Regions from separate parts of the Homo sapiens genome. Here all the other regions are linked to region 2. The links are contacts of gene promoters, found by promoter capture Hi-C in human tissues and cell types (Jung and others, 2019). All regions are on one chromosome and are shown on one strand. The core of a region is centred on a gene start or on the middle of the fragment in contact, and the rest is flanking DNA. Distances in the headings are between cores, read along the strand shown.

Region 1 (2,700 bases), core at 146-2,645, 360 kb before region 2:
AGATCTTTCAGGAATTGGCACACTCTCTTCCACAATGGTTGAACCAATTTACATTCCCAACAGTGTAAAAGCATTCATGTTTCTCCACAGCTTTACCAGCATCTGTTGTTTCTGGACTTTTTAATAATCACCATTCTGACTGGCATGAGATGGTATCTCATTGTGGTTTTGATTTGCATTTCTCTGATGATCACTGGTGTTGAGCTTTTTTTCATATGTTTGTTGGCCGCATAAATGTCTTCTTTTGAGAAGTGTCTGTTCATGTCCTTTGCCCACTTTTCAATGGGGTTGTTTGTTTTTTTTCTTGTAAATTTGTTTAAGTTCCTTGTAGATTCTGGATATCAGACCACAAATTTTCTTAATCTGTCTCCAGTGATGGGAAAGCTAAGCTATTTGTCCACTGATTCCCAACGCCCACTGGATGCCAGGGATACTAAATCCCTCGCTCTTTCAAACTGTTATACTTGCAAGCTATACAAGCTCCCTGGGGGCCAGAGAAAACCCACAGCAGAAAATTAGGGACTGATGCTAGAGGTAGGAGGCTGTCAATGTGCATTGGCTATTATTCGGCCATAAAAAGGAATGAACTTCTCACTCACCACTGATGACATGCCTTGCTGCACACACACCCTGCTGCCACCCTGCAGAAATGCTTCCATTACCCACAGTCCTTTGCCAGATGGAACTGATGCCCAGGTAACTGGCTCCTCACCTCCTTCGGGCTTATACCAAGGATATAAAACTTGGTACAGATGCTCAAGCGTTAATGCTTCAGGGTGTGACTTTTAATCCAATGCTGTAGCTGTGACAACAGGGAAAAACGGAGAACAGAGTTGGAGAAGTCCCAAAGTAATGAAAGAAGTTATTTACTGTTGCAAAATCAAACGACTTAAAGGATAAATGTAACTGATCTTTACATACGAAAGAAGAGAGAGGGAAGTGAAGGGCGGGGAGAAAGAGACTCAGACAGACAGAGACTCCCTGAGAAAAAGACAGGCACAGAGTAAAAGACATACAGATGCACAGAAAAGAGAAGAAACAGAGTGAGAAAAATAAAACATAAGAATAGACATGTCAGGAGAAGAGTGAAATTAGAAAGAAGGAAGAGAGCTAGCATACTGTTAACCTGCAAACTCCCCCTGGGAAATGGAAGACTCTGGAGTTAAACCTCCCCTTCTGCTAAGGGAGCCTGGAAAGCCCAAGACAACATGTGCCCTCTTTCCCTGGTAGACCAGAAAGCCTCAGATTGCTGAGGATTAGGAGCCACCTATCCCCCAGTGTAGGTACCAGGTAGTCCCACTGATGGCCTCAGGGATCTGGTGTTCCTGATCGGGGAGTCTGGCTGGCTTGTCTCCAGGGCTGTCTCTTAAGGTGCTGGGCCACACCGGGGCAGGCAAAGTGCAGATGTAGGAGCTGCTGAGGAGCAGTTCTTAGTTTTGGTGCCATCAACCAGGCCAGTACTTCCTAAAATGGGACTCTCAGGACTTCTGCCAATCCTGGTACCATTCATCCTTTTGGGGGACATCCAGGAACCTGGGCACGCTGAAGGCATCCTTGGCAGTAAGTATTGGGAACTCCGTCCTTGCAATGGGGAAAGGAAACTCAGTGGGGAGGAAGGAACAAAGAATAATTTTGCAGCTGAGAAATTATTTTCTCCACCTCTGCCTGGAATTCCAGGTGGGAAAGAGGGGAGCTATTTGAAGTCTCTTGGTAAGAGACTCCCTTGGTGAATACAGGCATCCAAATCTGTGGCAAGTGACTCCTTGCTGCCATTCCAAAGAGTTCTTCCTGGAGGTGCCTGGACCTAGAGCTCATGAAATGAACTAAGAAGGAGTAGTAAGCCCAAGGAAGTCTCCCACAAGAAAAACAGGCTGCTCCCCACAACACCACCTGTGTCAACTTCCAAATGTTCTCATTGCAGCCCCCACACCCATACCCACAGAGGACCCTGGTCTTTGGGTTAAAGAATGGTCTCCAGAAGTCCCTTGGAATGCTGAAATGTGAAGACTCACAATTAGCAGCTAACTGTACTGGGCACTGAAAATTAGTGGTTGAAAGTGAGCACTCAGGAGCCACACATTGTAGGTTCAAACCTGGCTCCACCCCTGAGTAGCTGTGTGATCTTGGGCAAATTCACATAATCTCCTTATGCTTCCAATTCTTCTGTTTACAAAATGTGAATATTAAGAGTACTTACCCATAGATTTGTAATGAGGATTAAGGAGAAAAGGCAGCTCACAGTAAGTGCTTCATCCATATTACTCATTGTTACGTTACATTGCCCCAGGCAGTTTGACGATGGCTTGTCAAACTGTGTTGCTGGTTAGTCTTCAAAGCAACCCTATGGGCAAATGAGGAAATCAAGGCTCAGAGAGAGTGCCTGGCACACCAAGCGTCTCACAGAATTCAAAAGCCCAGCTATCTGATGCCAGAAATGTTAATCTCAATCATCGAGAGCCACAGCACCTCCTGGGGGAGCAACCAAGCACAGCAAGGCTGAGTGACCAGAACAGTCTTAGAGGAATGCGTCTTTCTCTCAGGAATCTCATAGATGGTGCGGGTAGGGGGTAGGGGTTGGTTTAGGCATCCGATGGTGAGTTGTTATGGGGTTGGGGATGTGAGCAGTGTTGTGAAATTCCTGAGCCCCCTGAGGGCCACTACCTTCTGGGGATAGGTGAAGTGGAAACAAAGTTCTCTAAC
Region 2 (2,700 bases), core at 176-2,675:
AGCACTCAGAGGCAGTGAGGAAGACAGATCATCCTTCTAGGCACTCTGGTTATAGCCTCTCAGACCCCTCAGTCTCCCAGTCTTTCTGTCACCTCCCACAACCTCCCTCCCACCAACCTGGGATGCTTCCCCACCGCTCAGCCTTCTTTTGTGTCTTCAGGGGTCTCCTCGTTCTCCAGCTAGTGCTCACCTCACTGGGGAACGAAACAGGCCATCCCGCAAGAGCCTTCACAGCACTTCTTGATTCCTGGGCAGTCAGTATCTTTCAAGCAGCGGTTAGGGGGATTCAACATGGCGCACCGGATCAAGATAATGGGGCAGGAGCCAGGCTTAGTGGAGACTGGACCTTTGACTGGCTCTTGCGCTTTGACTTTATCTTGACCTTTAACTGAAACTTGTCCTTTAACGGGATCTTGTCCATTGAATGGAACACGGCCTTTGACAGTGTCTTGACCTTTAACAGGAACTGTTAAAAGAAGAAACGAGCCCACATTTATACCCAGTAAGCCTCTGCTTCAGCTGCCATGTCTTTCCTCTGGGTCTGGGTCCATCCACTGCTTACTGCAGCATCCTCAAACCATGGCCTGAGTAGGGAAGGTACACCTCTGGGAGCTACACTCTTGGAAGGCTCTTCCTTTTTTGGGGTGGTCTACTGGACCAGAGTTCCCTTGAGTATTTGTTTCTTCCCCCTTCCTCCACTCCAAGTCTCTCAGGAGCAGTGGTCAGACTGGGGTGACACCCAGCAGTGAAGAGGACACATTGTCATTTGTTAGGAAGTGCATTGGAGTAGGAAAGAACCCTGAGCCACATACTAGGAGACTTGAGCCCCATCCTGGCTCTGGGAATTACCTTGGCAATTGCTCACTCATTTCTACATTTTTGGTTCCCTCCTTATAAAATGGGGGTCCTCAAACAACATGATTCCTGAAGGCTTGTTGTTTCTTAACCTCCTTTTAGAGTACTGATTACTCCAGTGCTTTTATGGGGCAGAGAAACGGGGGACTGTGTCCACACCCAAGGTTTAAAATCCTGGAGTTCATTATTTTATTGCACATTCTGCACAGGTATTGACATCTGAGGCCAAGGCCACATACCAACATTACTTCCACAAACAGTCCTGATATCTCAGTCACTGAGGTGGAAAGCACGTGGAGTCCACCAGCCAAAGTCCTATTTTTTCTGAATATGATGGCAAAGAACAGAAAGCTGAAATCTGGGCTCCAGTGCTGCCTACTGCTTCAGAAGTGCTCCCTGTCCTGGCCCAGGGTGTCCCAGAGGGTCTCCCCTTAGTCCAACCCAGCCCAGCAGGTCACCTGTTCACTCACCTCCCGTGACAGCTGCCTCTAGAACCAGCGTCCCAGCGATGAGGAACACCACCACGATCAAGAAGCTGCTGGCCCTCATGGTGTCAGGAAGGTGTTTGGCTAAGAGCTAAGGCCATACCAATCTTTATGCAGTCCAGCTTGGCCTGGCTCCAGGGGCGGGTCTGTGGTATTTACAAGGGATAATTCCTTAGCTGTATTGGGAAATATCCACCCCATTCTGGGAGGGACCTGGGGGCTTTCCCTCAGGATTATTCACAGGAAGAACTAATGGACATTACATCACATCATCTCTGATTGTCCCAAGAGTTTTCCTACTTTCTCACAGAGTAGAAGTGCTGGCTCACTTATTAGGTAACATTACAATGAAATTCTTCATGTTTTGAAATACAGTGAGACCCAAGAAGAGAAAGGAATCACCGAAGGTTATTCAGCAAGTCACTGGTAGATCCAGTCTTGATTACAAAACCAAGGTGTTTCTCCATTATGCTCTGGTGCTACAAACCCCACCCAGATCTACTTTATCATTTTACCACTCCCAGCATCAAACTGGGCATTTCCTTCCTTCTTCCCTGGTCCTGCAAAAAACTCTGTAAGACAAATTTGCCTTGAATACATAATGACTAATTATTGCACTTTGCTGTTTCAGAGACGGCCTTTCAGATGCATCAAGAAAGTAATTGGAAGGTGGAATTCTAGGTCTGAAGAGGGATGATGCCCTTGAAATCACAGTGGTAGGGAGAAAATAATCAGAAAGTAGTAGAAAACATGTATCATGTATACATTGGACATCTACAGTGTGTGTGTCCAGCATGCCTCCCCACTTCTTTGAACAGCACCCTGTTTCTTGTGAAGAATTGTTGTCTCTTTGAACCATCAACTTGTGAGTCTAATGGGGACTGCTAATCATGAAAGCCTGACCCCTGACCACAGGTAGGGGTGTGTGTGTGTGTGTGTGTGTGTGAGTGTGTGTGTGTGTGTTGTGTGTGAGACTTGGTCTGGTCTATTAACATATTTTATTTGAATGAGTAATGAAAGGGGAAAACGGGGGTTCCTTCTTCTGGAAAAGGTGATATATATGAACCAGGGAATTCCAGAAGTGGTTATCTAAGTCTGGGGGTGGAGATCAATTGTCTGAGAAAAACGACTCTAATACACTGAGACAAGGAGAGAAGTGATGGTGAGAGAAGATTCAGATGACACAGCCAGGTTTCCCTCCTTTACCTTGAGAGCAGTTCTTCACACACCCTTCTCATGGTTGGGTTATGAGGCAATAAATTAGCCCTCTGCTTCAGCTAGTCTGACTTACTATTCTGTCATTGTTACCAAAAGTTCTGAGTAATAGAAATGAATATCCTGAAGTTGGGTATTGTCAGGG
Region 3 (2,700 bases), core at 136-2,635, 510 kb before region 2:
AGGTTTTTTTGTTTGTTTGTTTGTTTTTTAAACAGAGTCTCACTCTGCCACCCAGACTGGAGTGCAATGGCATAATCTTGGCTCACTGCAACCTCCACCTCCCGGGTTCAAGCGGTTCTCCTGTCTCAGCCTCCCAAGTAGCTGGGACTACAGGCATGCACCACCACATCTGGCTAATGTTCTGTATTTTTAGTGGAGACAGCGTTTCACCATGTTGGCCAGGCTGGTCTTGAACTCCTGACCTCAAGTGACCCACCCACTTCAGCCTCCCAAAGTACTGGGATTACAGGCTGAGCCATTGCACCCAGCCAAAAAGGTGGTTTTAAATGGACATAATAACACTGCCAGGGTCTACATCTCCTGGGAGCAGTGTAGAAAAGGGACTAGAATGCTGAGCTCCCATTTTCTCTTTGCAAGGGGTTTCCTGCTTACTCTATTGGTGGCTACTTGATGACCTTGCTTTTAATGAATTTGCATTGAGGACCTAAGGGGAGAAAGTAGCTCCCTGTCATCCTGAGCTTGAGCTGAGCACTTTCTGAGCCTTTCCTTTGGCTCATCCCAGTGATAAATCCAGTCGACCCATTCTTCCTGGAAGGAGTTTGTCCGTGTACTGAGTACCTAAGCTTCTATAGTTTCCACCCAAGGGACTGTCTCCTTATCAACCTAGCTCTGGGGACTAATGGGGCTTTGCATTCCCAATGAGACTTTGCATTCCTAAGCGGCCTGGGACTACAGAAAACAAAGACATGGGCATACAACGGGCCCACTTTCAGCATGTATTAGTCCATTCTCTCATTGCTATAAATAAATACTCAAGATTGCATAATTTATAAAGAAAAGAGGTTTAATTGGCTCATGGTTCTATGGGCTATACAGGAAGCATGGCACTATCTGCTTCTGAGGAGGCCTCAGGAGCTTTTACTCATGGCAGAAGACAAAGCCAGAGCAGGCATCTTCACATGGCTGGAGGAGGAGCGGGGTGAGGGATGTACTATATACTTTTAAACAACCACATCTCACTCACTATCATGAGAACAGCACCAAAGAGATGATGTTAAACCATTCATGAAGGATTTACCCCCGTGATCCAATCACCTCTCACCAGGTCCACCGCCAACATTGGGGATTACAACTTGACATGAGATTTGGATGGGGACACAGATTCTAACCATATCAAGCAGCTATCTCACCAGGATCAGAGGGTGCAGTTTGGACACAAGTATAGGCATTTGTCACAGATTATCTCTCCAGCTTAGTGCAGAGAGAGGGAGAGATAAATACTGGCATTCACCTTCACCATAGGATGGAAGAAACCAGAATACTCACCACCCTCCCCCTGCCATACATGCAAAAAGACAGAGAAAGTTTTAAAAACAGTGAGGAAATAGTGAATTGCTACACACAAGAGAACCCTCCCTTAGATTATCAGCAGATTTCTCAGCAGAAACTTTGTAGGCCAGAAGGGGGTGGGATGTTATATTAAAAATCCTGAATAAAACAACCCTGTCAACCAAGAATACTATACCCAGAAATCTTTTCTTTCAAAAATGAAGGGGTGATAAAGACTTTCTCAGACAAACAGAAGCTGAGAGAGTTTATTACTACTAGACTTGCCTTACAAGAAGTGCTAAAGAGAGTTCTTCAAGCTGAAGAAGAGGACACTAATTAGTGACTGGAAAACATATGAAAGTATAACATTCACTGATAAAAGTAAATACATTGTGAAATCCAAAATACTCTGATACTGTAATGTCAGTGGGTAAATAAATTATATCTTTAATAACATTAAAAGGCAAAGCTATTAAAAACAATGAAACCTACAATAATTTGTCAAGGGATACAAATTATAAAAAGATGCAGATTGTGATATCAAAAACTTAAGACAAATTTTCTCTTCTCTGAGGCTAGCTTGACTTCTCTTTGTTCTGCGTTCCACTGTTACCTAAAGAGTGTCCTTAGTGCCTGCCTCACAGCCCAGCACAAGGATATGAGCTGCAGAGAGTGACAATACAAGAAAGGCTACTCTGTGGATATGTCTCTGGTGCAAGAGCTGGTTTGCCCTGTCCTGGAGAATTTTCCCAGGATGGGGAAAGCCATGTGCTTCTTAATCCATCCCTGATACCTCAGGACTAAACTGGGAAGTGATGTCAGCAAGATGGCAGAATAGATCTCCTGGGATCACTTCCTGACACAAAAATAAAATGAAAAACTATTCAAAGACAAGAATGCCACCCTGAATACACCAGAACTTGAGAAGCAGAGAAACCCCCTGGGCTCATAGAATTGAGAGAAGCAGTGACAGGTAAGAGAAATGGTCATTTCAGCCTGTTCCACCCTCTCTCCCAGGCCATAATAATACCACTCACAGAGAACTTCCCTAGACCCACAGTTGCTGAGATGAGAAGAAGGAATTGGAGGTGGATATTTGATCTTCCCACTTGTCTAGGAATCTTAATGGTAAGTCCACTCCAGTTTCATCCCACTAGAGAACCAAGAGGGCTGAAAAACCTGGGGTGAATTGGGGACAAAGAGTAGGTCACTGATTGCAGCAACTGGCATGTGGATCTTGGTGATTGTTCAGTGCTTTGATCAGTGGGGATGCCATATTGAAGAGACTGGTGGGGGGGCCAGAGTATTGTAGGGGACAAAATTTATGGGAAGGCCCAAATCCACAAAGCCCAGGTGCACATGTGAAGCTTT

The links. Contacts are between HindIII fragments. The study calls those that stand out against the background at their distance.
Region 1: the fragment with the promoter of WFDC6 here is called in contact with the fragment with the promoter of PI3 in region 2 in 2 of the 25 tissues and cell types used here (mesenchymal stem cells and stomach).
Region 3: a contact is called between a fragment that was not itself captured here and the fragment with the promoter of PI3 in region 2, in 2 of the 25 tissues and cell types used here (dorsolateral prefrontal cortex and spleen).

What each region holds. Positions count from the first base shown.
Region 1 is chr20:45,538,177-45,540,876 of GRCh38, reverse strand. It overlaps WFDC6 (WAP four-disulfide core domain 6), which reads left to right and starts at 1,395. Exons shown (of 3, transcript NM_080827.2): 1 at 1,395-1,560. The coding sequence starts at 1,470. All of the region lies in intron 3 of EPPIN-WFDC6 (EPPIN-WFDC6 readthrough), which reads left to right. It overlaps EPPIN (epididymal peptidase inhibitor), which reads left to right. Exons shown (of 4, transcript NM_020398.4): 4 at 1-251. It overlaps LOC107987282 (a long non-coding RNA gene), which reads right to left. Exons shown (of 4, transcript XR_001754641.3): 3 at 2,198-2,341; 4 at 490-802. It also overlaps the pseudogene HSPD1P21. The HindIII fragment of the contact is 28,992 bases long and covers 1-2,700 here.
Region 2 is chr20:45,173,627-45,176,326 of GRCh38, reverse strand. It overlaps PI3 (peptidase inhibitor 3), which reads right to left and starts at 1,425. Exons shown (of 3, transcript NM_002638.4): 1 at 1,326-1,425; 2 at 191-466. The coding sequence starts at 1,404. The coding sequence ends at 192. RefSeq lists an enhancer at 636-1,835. The HindIII fragment of the contact is 10,589 bases long and covers 1-2,700 here.
Region 3 is chr20:45,678,639-45,681,338 of GRCh38, reverse strand. No RefSeq gene overlaps it. Among named protein-coding and RNA genes, the nearest start is that of WFDC11, 9.8 kb to the right of the region's middle. The HindIII fragment of the contact is 5,827 bases long and covers 1-2,700 here.